Regions from separate parts of the Homo sapiens genome. Here regions 1, 2 and 4 are each linked to region 3. The links are contacts of gene promoters, found by promoter capture Hi-C in blood cells and fetal thymus (Javierre and others, 2016). All regions are on one chromosome and are shown on one strand. The core of a region is centred on a gene start or on the middle of the fragment in contact, and the rest is flanking DNA. Distances in the headings are between cores, read along the strand shown.

The links. Contacts are between HindIII fragments. The CHiCAGO score rates a contact against its expected background, and 5 or more counts as called.
Region 1: a fragment that was not itself captured here is called in contact with the fragment with the promoter of NDUFB11 in region 3 in 1 of 17 cell types (non-activated CD4 T cells); the score reaches 5.1 in non-activated CD4 T cells.
Region 2: a contact is called between a fragment that was not itself captured here and the fragment with the promoter of NDUFB11 in region 3, in 1 of 17 cell types (monocytes). The highest score is 5.6, in monocytes.
Region 4: a contact is called between a fragment that was not itself captured here and the fragment with the promoter of NDUFB11 in region 3, in 3 of 17 cell types (naive CD8 T cells, total CD8 T cells and total CD4 T cells). The highest score is 6.6, in naive CD8 T cells.

What each region holds. Positions count from the first base shown.
Region 1 is chrX:47,995,166-47,998,136 of GRCh38, forward strand. The region is part of intron 3 of ZNF182 (zinc finger protein 182); the gene reads right to left. Among named protein-coding and RNA genes, the nearest start is that of ZNF182, 7.3 kb to the right of the region's middle. The HindIII fragment of the contact is 5,411 bases long and covers 1-2,971 here.
Region 2 is chrX:47,674,595-47,677,294 of GRCh38, forward strand. No RefSeq gene overlaps it. Among named protein-coding and RNA genes, the nearest start is that of UXT, 17 kb to the left of the region's middle. The HindIII fragment of the contact is 2,187 bases long and covers 212-2,398 here.
Region 3 is chrX:47,143,451-47,146,155 of GRCh38, forward strand. It overlaps NDUFB11 (NADH:ubiquinone oxidoreductase subunit B11), which reads right to left and starts at 1,252. Exons shown (of 3, transcript NM_001135998.3): 1 at 1,023-1,252. The coding sequence starts at 1,229. RBM10 (RNA binding motif protein 10) reads left to right here and starts at 1,771. Exons shown (of 24, transcript NM_005676.5): 1 at 1,771-2,035. RefSeq lists an enhancer at 1,795-2,064. The HindIII fragment of the contact is 2,886 bases long and covers 1-1,596 here.
Region 4 is chrX:47,838,294-47,841,217 of GRCh38, forward strand. The region is part of intron 1 of ZNF81 (zinc finger protein 81); the gene reads left to right. It also overlaps the pseudogene RPL7P57. Among named protein-coding and RNA genes, the nearest start is that of ZNF81, 2.9 kb to the left of the region's middle. The HindIII fragment of the contact is 564 bases long and covers 970-1,533 here.

The DNA of each region.
Region 1 (2,971 bases), core at 368-2,867, 850 kb after region 3:
CTAAAAGTACAAAAAAATTAGCTGGGTGTGGTGGTGTGCACCTGTAGTCCCAGCTACTTGGGAGACTGAGGCAGAAGAATCGCTTGAACCCAGGAGGCAGAGGTTGCAGTGAGCTGAGATTGCACCACTGTACTCCAGCCTGGGCGACAGAGCGAGACGCTGTCTCAAAAATAAAAAAAAGAACCAAATGAAAATTTTGAAACTGAAAAAGATAATAACTGAAATAAATCCCCAATTGATGGACCCAACACAACAGAGATATCAGAGAAAAGAGCAAGTAAACTTCAAGGTAAACCAATAAAAATTACCTAATCCCAAAAATAGAAAAAACACTGCAGAAACATGAACAGATTCTGGGACCTCTGGGACAATACCAAAAGGTCCAAAATTCATGCCATCAGAGTTCCAGAAGGAGAGGAGAAAGAGGATAGTACAGAAAAATATCTGGAAGAAATAATTCCTGAACACTTCCCCAAATTTGGCAAAAGACAAAAATCTATATGTTCAAGAGGCTCAGCAAGTCCAAAACAGGATAACCCCAAAGAAATCCACACTCAGACACATTATCACCAAACTGCTGAAAACTAAGGACAAGTGAAAAACAACATATTATTTACAGGAGAACAACTATTTAAATGACTGTGGATTTCTCATGAGAAACCAGGGTGTGCAGAAGAAGTGGAACAGCATTGTGAAAGTTCCAAAAGAAAACAACAGTCCACTGAAAAATCTATATGCAGTAAAAATCTCCTTCAGAAATGAAGGTGAAAGAAGACATTCTCAAGGAAGGAAAACCAAGACTATGTTGCCAGCAGACTTGCTCTGAAACAACTGCCAAAGGCAGTTCTTCATAACAGGCAATTGATATCAGAAGGAAACTTAAGATTGTGAACAATGAAGGAAGAACATCAAAGTGGTAAAAATCTGGGTAAATAGAATAGATTATCCTTGAGTTCTTTAAAATACATTTGACAGTTGGAAGAGAAATAACATTTTCTGGTAGAAATTTCAATGTATGTGAAAGTAATATTAATACATAAGACAACAAAAACATAAAGGGGAGAGGGAAAAGGGACTTATAAGATGGTAAGGTTCACACACTCCATTTAAAGAGGTAAAATATTGATGCTAAGCATGTTGTGTAAACTTAAATATATATGGTAATTTGCAGGGCAACCACCAAAAAAAAAACTATGTAACTCTGTAAATAGATATAGTAAAAAACACAATAGACAAATAAAAATGTAATCTAAGAAAATGTTCAAATAACCCAAAAGAAGGCAGAAAATGAGAAACAAAGGAATAAAAAGGGAGAAAAACCAGAAAACAAATAATAAAGTGGTAAATACCTAAATCCAAGAGTATCAATAATTGCATTAAATGTCAATGGACTGAATGTACCAATTAAAAGGAAGAAGTTTTCAAAATGGATTAAAAAAATATTACCCAACTGTTATGGACTGAATTGTACTCCCACTCCACAAATTCATACATTGAAGCCCCAACCTGCAATGTGACTGTATTTAGAGACTGGGCCTTTATAAAGGCAATTAAGGTTAAATGAGGTCATAAGGGTGGGGCCCTAACCCAGCAGAACTGGTGTACATATAAGAGAAATGGACATCAGAGCTTGCTCTCTGTGTGTGTGAGCAGAGGAAAGGCCATGGGAGGGCACAGCAAGAAGGTGGCCATCTGCAAGCCAGAAAGAGTGCCCGAGGCTAAAACCAAATCAGTCAGTACCTTAATCTGGGACTTCCCAGCTTCTGGAACTGTGAGAAAATTAATTTATGTTGTTTAACCCACCCAATCTATGGTACTTTGTTATGGCAGCCCGAGCAGACTAATATACCCAGCTACATGCTGTCTAAAAGAATATACTGGCCGGGCACGGTGGCTCACACCTGTAATCCCAGCACTTTGGGAGGTCGAGGTAGGCGAATCACCTGAGCTCAGGAGTTCGAGACCAGCCTGGGAGACATGGCAAAACCCCATCTCTACAAAAAATTAGCCAGTCGTGGTGGTGTGTGCCTGTGGTCCCAGCTACTTGGGAGGTTGAGGTGGGAGGATCACTTAAACCCGGGAGGTCAAGGCTGCAGTGAGCTGAGATCATGCCACTGCACTCCAGCCTGGGTGAGAGAGGGAGATCCTGCTAAAAAAAAAAAAAAAACACAACATACTTCAAATATAATAATACAGGTGGGATAGAAGTAAGAATGGAAAAAAGTACACCATTGAAATACTAACCAAAGAAGACTGGAGTGACCATATTTAATAACAGCCAAAGTAGACTTCAGAGCCAAAACTCATCCAGGATAATGAATGACATAAGGATAAAAAAATTCACCGGCCAGGCACAGTGGCTCACACTTGTAATCCCAGCACTTTGGGAGGCCGAGGCGGGCAGATCACTTGAGGCCAGGAGTTCAAGACCAGCCTGGCCAACATGGCAAAACCCCGTCTCTACTAAAATACAAAAATTAGCTGGGCGTGGTGGTAGGCACATGTAACCCCAGCTACTTAGGAGGCTGAGGCAGGAGAATCACCTGAAACCGGGAGGGGGAGGTTGCTGTGAGCCAAGATTGCACCACTACGCTCCAGCCTGGGTGACAGAGCAAGACTCCATCTCAAAAAAAAGAATTAATTAATTCACCAAAAAGATACAACACTCCTAAAAGTGTATGCATCTAACAACAGAGCTTCAAAATATATGAAGGGAAACTGATGCAACTGACAGGAGAAACAGGCAAATCTGCAATAATAACTGTATACTCAATACTCTTTTCTCAGTAACTGATAGAACCAGTAGACAGAAAATCAGCAAGAATATAGAACTAAACACCATCAACCAACTGTATGCAATTGAGATATACAAAACACGCCACTATAAAACAACAGAATATACATTCTTTTCTTTTCTCTTTTTTTTTTTTTTTGAGACAGAGTCTCGCTCTGTTGCCCAGGCTAGAGTGCA
Region 2 (2,700 bases), core at 55-2,554, 530 kb after region 3:
TCTGCACCACATGGCCACTGCCAGATGGTGAGGGAAGGGTAGTGTAGGTGATTCAAGACTGTCTTTCCTACCTTCTTTAGTGCCTCTTTCCTTAAAATAATATTAAAACCAAGTACTGTGACTGCTTACCTGCTTTTTGGTTCTTATGAAGGTGGTTTTCTGTGTGTGTAGTTGTTCAATTTGGTGTTCCTGTCGGGGGACAATCAGTGGAAGCTTCTATTTGGCCATCTTGCTCTGCTTCCAAGCCTCAGTAGTTTTTCTTGAATAACCACTTCCCAATTTGTTATATTACCTTGGTAAATTTCCAGAGTCTTTAACTGGTTGTTTTTGGCAATTTTGTCCACTTTTGTCATGGCGTTTTGTGGAGAGGATTGCCAAGCTCCTTAGTCAACCTTTCCAGATGTCTCTCCCTTCCTTGTAACTAGAGTTTTGATTGCATCACTTAAAAAGTGTTAGTATGTTTCACAAAAATGTGTACCAGTATGAATTAGCAGTATATTTATTTATTTATTTGTTTGTTTATTTTTTAAGACGGAGTCTTGCTCTGTTGCTCAGGCTGGAGTGCAGTGGCGCAATCTCGGCTTACTGCAACCTCCGCCTCCCTGGTTCAAGCCATTCTCCTGCCTCAGCCTCCCAAGTAGCTAGGATTACAGGCATGCACCACCACGCCTGGGCAATTTTTGTATTTTTAGTAGAGATGGGGTTTTGCCATATTGGCCAGGCTGGTTTCAAACTCCTGACCTCAGGTGATCCGCCCGCTTCAGCCTCCCAAAGTGCTGGGATTACAGGCGTGAGCCACTGCTCCCAGCCTTTGCCCATTTTTTAGTTGGGTTATTTATTTATTTTGTTTTAGCAAAGTGTAAGGGTTCTTTATGTGTACTTTTTGTGCCATATCTGAGAAACCATTAAGGGGCAGGATTTGAATACATATCTGGCTCCAGCATTCATGTTCTTAACCATTACACCACGCTGCCTGTCTTGAATTAGCAGTTTAGATATAAATGATTTATGTATGTCGTGACTTAGACTCTTGATTTATTCCAAACATGCTTAGTCACCATGCAGTATCTGTATTTTCACATGTGTATTTGTATATATGTGATGATTGTGACACATAAGAATGGTTATTGCATTATTCCCAACAATAGAAGATAATGGTTTGAAGCAGCAATAAGTGAGTACTATTATTGCTCTCCCTATTAATGGTGCCCTTATTTCAGTGATGACGTTCTCTGTCTTTTTTGCCTATCACTTTTGTTTAATATTCTTTCCTCACTTCTAGAAAAAAATGTGTTTCTTCTTTAATATCTGATATGGTTAATGACAGAGCAGGAGCACCGTCATCTTGGACAAACACCGCCACTCTAAGTTCAAGCTCCCTTTCTAGCCTCATGCATTTCAAGGAAATCACTTCTTTTCTAACTACAAGCAGCCAGAAAAGAGCAGACAGTAAAACACAGATAAGACAGCTCAGGCACAGAGGGAGGCGGGGGGGAAGTCTCCTGGGTAACTGCCGAACTTCACCCTCATACAATGGACCCCAGTGAAACAGTGGGCCTTACTAAGCACATTCCTTTCCCTTCAGGTGCACTAAGATAGGGAAGCTAAAAGTAGACTGGGGGGGTATGCCTGCAGCTGCAGGAAGATGTATGGGAACAGACACAAAACTCTCCCTCCCAGATAAGCAAAATGAAGAGACACAGAAGCAGTCCAAGCCTCTGATAAACTCTCCCACCCTAAATCTTTAAAAACTCTTAGTCTGTAAGAGAGTGGGCTCTGATCTAACTTGGCCAGAATCCCCTGTCAGGTTTGTTTTCTCTAAAATAAACCTGTCCTTGACTGTTGAGCCACCTTTCATGTTTCTTTCCTCTTTCTTTAATTCTTAGAATTAGGCTTTGTGTTCCCCACCCAAATCTTATCTTGAATTGTAATCCCCATAATCCCCACGTGTCAAGGGAGAGACCAGGTGGAGGTAATTGAATTGAATCATGGAGGCAGTTTCCTCCATGCTGTTTTCATGATAGTGAGTGAGTTCTCACGAGATCTGATGGTTTTATAAGGGGATCTTCCCCTTTCACTTGGCACTTCTCCTTCCTGCCGCCTCGTGAAGACAGTGCCTTGCTTCCCCTTTGCCTTCTGCCATAATTGCAAGTTTTCTGAGGCCTTCCCAGCCATGCTGAGCTGTGAGTTATTTAAACCTCTTTCCTTTATAAATCACCCAGTCTCAGGCAGTTCTTTATAGCAGCGTGAAAATGGACTAATACAATATCCCTCATAGCAGATGAAATATTGCATCCTTACCATGGACATCTGTGGTTAATCCATTGGTGTAACTTGACAAACATAGTCAGATGGTGTTTAAAATATATTCACACTTACATAAATAGACATCACTTTAAGCTTACTGCACTACTTATTTCTTAGTTACCTTACATTACGTAACAGGAATAATTTTTTTGTTTTATTTTTCTATAACCAACTGAAAGAATAAGTCATATCCCATTCTAGTATGTTCTGAAATTTTTTAAGGCTTTAATGTTAAAAGTTGTCATTCCTTTTCTTTTCTTTTCTCGTTTTTAGAGACAGGGTCTCCCTCTGTTGCCCAGGCTAGAGTGCAGTGGTGCTATCTCCGCTTACTGCAGCCTTGACCTCCTGGGATCAAGCAATCCTCCCACCTCAGCCTCCCAAGTAGCTTGGGCC
Region 3 (2,705 bases), core at 2-2,501:
TCCTATATATCCAAGCCCCTTAACCAGAGGTTAGTATTGATGAAGTACTTATTATGTGCCAGTCTTTTCACATAGAAACACCTCACAATATCTCAGTGAGGTGAAACATGGCAATAATAAACACATTCTAGTGCTGAGTACATACTTACGAAGTGCCAGCTGCTGTTCTGACCATTTTTACTCATTTAATTACATGAGGCAGGTGGGGTGTCCTATTTTTTAGAAGGTGTCCTATTACTGTTCCCATCTTACAGACAAAGAAACTGAGGCACCAAGGGTTTATGCTACCAAGATCACACGGGTGGGTAACCGTCAGTGCTGCCTGATTTCACAGCGTCTGCTATTAATACAGCACAGCAGACCTGGTAGCCCTAAATTCAAATACCAGTTCCACCTCCACCATGTATTCAGTTATGTGAGCTAGGGCAATCCACTTAACATCTCTGTGCCTCAGTTTCCTCATCTGTAGGATGAGTATAATAATAGAGCCCACCTCGAAATGGGGTTTGTTTCGAGTATAAGATGAGCTAATGCATGTCAAGTGTTTAGAACACAGACGGGGCCCGGAGCGGTGGCTCATGCCTGTAATCCCAGCACCTTGGGAGGCCGAGGCGAGAGGATCGCTTGAGCCAGGAGTTCGAGACCAGCCTGGGCAACATAGCGAGATCTCGTCCCTATAAAAAAAAAAAAAAGAATGCAGACGGCAACGAGCAAGTGCCATATCGGTGTTTAGTATTATCGTTGTACTATACTGCTTCTAACGTGTTTTGAGCGCTGTCCACTTGAGGTGTGATTTCTGTCTGCAAAATAAAACCAATCCTGCCTCTGGCCCTGGAACGAAGATACCGAGAGACAAAGGAGGAACACAAGGTAGGCAAAATTCCCAAGTCTTCTAGGCTTTCGCCGGCCGCGCAGTCCTCTACTGCCTAAGAACGTCCTCTACAGCGCCCCATCTGCCGATCCCGGACTGACCCCTTCGGGGTTCCGTCCCCACTACCCCCCCCCCCCCCCCCGCCTCTCACCTTCTCATACAAGTTTTCGTCCTCGGGTTCTGGGTCCTCTTGCCACGGTGTGGTCGGTTCTGGGGGCCGCTTTCCCGCCACAGCGGACGGGGCGACCACAGTCCTGGAGAAGCTAGATTCCCAGCGGACGCGGGCGGCCGGGAGCCCTCGCGTCGCCGCTGCCGCCAAAAGACGGCGAGCGCTCAAACCAAACAGCCCAGCCGCCATGACAGATGGTGCTGCAGGGTCTCAGGGGCGGGGAAAGAAATGCGACTGTGCGCAGCTGCAGTGGGTGCGAGCGCGACAATCATCGCCCCGCCTCCGCCACGCTATATAGGTCCCAGATCTGATTTGGTTTTCCAATGAGGCGGGGCGTTGAGCAACCCTCTTTGCCTCCAGTTGTCGTGGCTTCGTGGGGCCAACCATTTTCGGCCAGGCTGAGAAATTTCTTATTGATGGGTCTGCTCATTTCCTGCATAGGAAGAAATCGGTGACATTTGGGTGGATACAGTTCCCAGCCAATCGCCCCGAGTTCCCTCGCCCACTGGGGAAAGAGGCAGAGCTTCCGCTAGTCTTTCATCTTCAAAGGAAATCAAGCTTCTAAAAAGCGGGCCCTGCCGAATTGGCTAATAGCTACTCCTTTTCTCCACTAGGGGAGCGTTCGCAAGGGGTGTGGGGAGGTGGCCAGCGCTTGCCAATCAGAGGAGGCCAGGGCTGTCCCCTAGCGGGCGGTGACCAATCGCCGGGGCCGGCCAGAGCGCGCTTCCTTAGTAGGTGGATGGTGGTCGGAGCGCCGACTCCCTTCTCGTCGTCGCCATTTTGAGCTGGTGACTGTGGCCGGCTGGGAGTAGGCGGCAGTGAGTTTCCCTGGGAGGGCAGCGCGCTTGGCGCTTCTCCCCTCCCCCCGATCTGCCTCCAGTCTCGGACTTGGTTGTTGCGCGCTCCGGCTCCGGCTGAGCTGGGAGAGTTGGAGGAGGTGGCGGCGGGCAGAGGTGATGTCTGGGAGCCCTTCCTTGACAGCCCGGGCCGAGAAGGTGAGCGTCGACGCTGGTCGTGGGGGCGGAGGTAAGGGGCCCGGGGCGGGGACGTAGAGGAGGCGCGAGGGCGGACTTCGGGTCGGGGGAGATGCGCGGAACGGAGGGGTTGGTGCAATGTCTCAACCCGGGAGGGTTTTTTTTTTTTTGGTTTTTTTTTTTTTTTTTTTTTTTTTTGGTGTGAGCAAAGGCGCGTGCGCGACTGGGACATGGGATGGGTGCATGCGGGTTGGGGGAAGGGAGGGACGGATGGGAGTGGGCTACTGTGGATCACTGTGTCGGCTACATCGAAGTTTATCAGTGGGGAAGCGGTTGTCTGCGACTTTGAGTTTGTGCATAGGAGAGGGGATGCTGCTCTGTGTTACTCTGGTGTTTATCGGTCCATGGGGAAATATTCTGTGGTTCTGGTCTCTATTCCTGGGGGATCGGAGGGGGGATGTGACTCTGGTCTTTACCCTTTGAGGGGGGGCGGTCTGTGACTCTGATCCTTATCCATGGGGCGGGGCTTGGGGGACGACTGTCTTTTGATTGACCCTAACCCACTTATTGGGTGGGAAGGGGCATGCAGGGAATGTGTGTGTGACTCATTGCCCCTTCTTTTGGGGAGTTTGTATCTGTGACACTGACGCTCATCCATGGAAAGGGGACCCACTGTGTAATTGTGGTCCTT
Region 4 (2,924 bases), core at 2-2,501, 690 kb after region 3:
TTATACCTCTGCTTTTCTTCCCTTATTACACTGGCAAGAAGTTCCAGTACTATGTTGAATAAGAGAGTGGACATCTTTGCATTGTTTTCAGTCTTAGGGGGAAAATATTCAACCTTTTACCATTAAGTATGATTTTAGCTGTAGGGCTTTCTTTTTTTGGACCCTCTTTTTTGGTTGAGGAAGTTCCCCTCTATTTTTAATTTCAAAAGTAGTTTTTATCGTGAATGGGTGTTGAATTTCATCAACACTCTGAATTTTGATGATCTTGTGATTTTTTTTCTTTTTTAGCTTGTCAGTATGGAGGGTTATGCTGATTGATTTTTGAATATTGAACTAGTCTTACATTCCTGGAATAAACCCTACTTGGTTGTGATGTATAATTCTTTGGATATATTGAAGGAATTGATTAGCTAATGCTTTTTTGAGGATTTTTGCATCTAAGTTCATGGGAAATATTTGTCTATAGTTTTCTTTTTTATACTATCTTTGTCTGGTTTTATTTTTTATTTTTGAGACAGGCTCTCACTCTGTTCCTCAGGCTGGAATGCAGTGGTGTGACCATGGCTTACTGCAGCCTTGACCTCCCAGCCTCAAGTGATTCTTCCACCTCAGCCTCCTGAGTAGCTGGGACTCCAGGCACACGCCACCACACCCAACTAATTTTATTATTTTTTGTAAACCGGGTCTCACTATGTTGCCCAGGCTGGTCTCAATCTCCTGGGCTCAAATAGTCCTCCTGCCTCAGCCTCTCAAAGTGCTGGGATTACAGGTGTTAGCCACTGCTCTTGGCTTTGTCTGGTTTTAGTATTAGGGTAATACTGGCCTCATTGAATGAGTTGGGGACTATTTCCTCCTCTTCTGTTTTCTGGAAGAGACTGTGTAGAATAAGTACTAATTTTTATTTAAATATTTAAATATTTGGTAGACTTCTCCAGTGAAGCCATCTGGGCCTGGAAACTTCCATTTGGAAGCTTTTTGATCATGGCTTCAATGTCTGTAATAGTTATGTAACTATTCAGATTATCTATTTAATATCATTTTAGACTACAGGTTAAGCATCCCTAATTCAAAAATCTGAAATCCAAAATGCTTCAAAATCCAAAACTTTCTGAGTGCCAACATAATGCCACAAGCAAAATTTCACACCTGATTTTGTGACAGGTCACAGTCAAAATGCAGTGAAAACTTTGTTTCATGCACAAAATTATTAAACATGTTATATAAAATTACCTTCAGGCTATGTTATAAGGTAACATAGTGTACATGAAACATAAATGAATTCTGTGTGTATACTTGGGTCTCATTCTGCAAGATACTTTATTATGTATATGCATATATTCCAAAATAAAAAAAAACTGAAATCTGAAACACTTCTGTTCCCAAGCATTTTGGATAAGAGACATTCAACCTGCATTTAATAGTGGGTGAATTGTGGTACTTTGCATTTTACAAGGAATTGGACTGTTTCATCCAAGTTGTTGAATTTATGTGCACAAAGTTGTTGTGGTATTCCCTTACTATCCTTTTAATGCAAGCTTGTCCAACCCGCTGTCCGTGGGCCACATGTGGCTCCGGACAGCTTGGAATGCAGCCCAACACAAATTCGTAAACTTTCTTAAAATATTGTGAGTTTTTTTTGCATTTTTTTTAAAGCTCATCAGCTATCGTTAGTGTTAGTGTATTTTATGTGTGGTGAAAGACAATTCTTCTTCCAGTGGGGCCCAGGGAAGCCAAAAGATTAGATACCCCTGTTTTAATGGCTGCAGGATCTGCAGTTACATCTCTGTGTTTCATTTCTAATATTGGTAATTTGTGTCTTCATGTCTTCTCTCTCTTTTTTTTTTTTTTTTTGCAGAGACAAGTGAACATTTATTTTTGTGCCTTTCTTCCTATGTGTATTTCGAGTCTTTTTCAAAACAAGTCCCCAGGAATCTCCAGATTCAATTATGTCCCTGGGCTTGGTCGACTGCTGCAGGATTCTTAGGAAGCATTATACAAATGCTAGAGTTACTCATTAACCAACATTAAACCCTAGGATAGAAGATGCAGCAAAGCAGGACTCCTTCCTCCGTGGAATGTGCTGATTTCAGATGAGGCCGCAGCCAATGTAGAAAATGCTGGAATTTTTCCTTGAAACTGGACTGTGATGAGAGGTGCTTGCCATGAACATAAGCTACTGTCTTTTCTTTTCTTTCTTTCTTTTCTTTTTCTTTTTTTTTTTTTTTTTGAGACGGAGTTTTGCTGTTGTTGTCCAGGCTGGAGTGCAATGGCGCAATCTCGGCTCACCCCAACCTCCGCCTCCCAGGCAGGTTCAAGCGATTCTCCTGCCTCAACCTCCTGAGTAGCTGGGATTACAGGCATGCGCCACCATGCCCGGCTAATTTTTGTATTTTTAGTAGAGACGGGGTTTCTCCATGTTGGTCAGGCTGGTCTTGAACTCCTGACCTCAGGTGATCCGCCCGCTTTGGCCTCCCAAAGTGCTGGGATTGCAGGCATGAGCCACCGCGCCCGGCGAGCTACTGTCTTTTCTTTGACCCTTCCTTTCCAGTTTTTGAAGATAAAGCAGGAGATAAACTTCTCTGAAGATACTTGATAAAAATTCCCCCCAAAAATAAAAACACATGCTTCCACTTCATTGATACAAATTTACTGCAGTTTGGCACCTGGGTCTAGTTCAGCTGGTGGATGAGCAGATTGATGTGTTCACCCCGATAGCCAGGTGTGCCCGTCTCCTTGAGGAAGCCTACTCTATTTTTGGTAGCATGACGGGCCACTGACAGGTGGAAAGGGCTCAAGAACCATGAGATCTCCTCGAAATGTTTCCCTGGGAAGGCAATTTCATGAATGAGGTCTTCCAAGCAAATGACACCAAACTTCCCCAGGTGCTCCTCAATCACTGTACTGTCTGTCAGAGGGATGGTCTT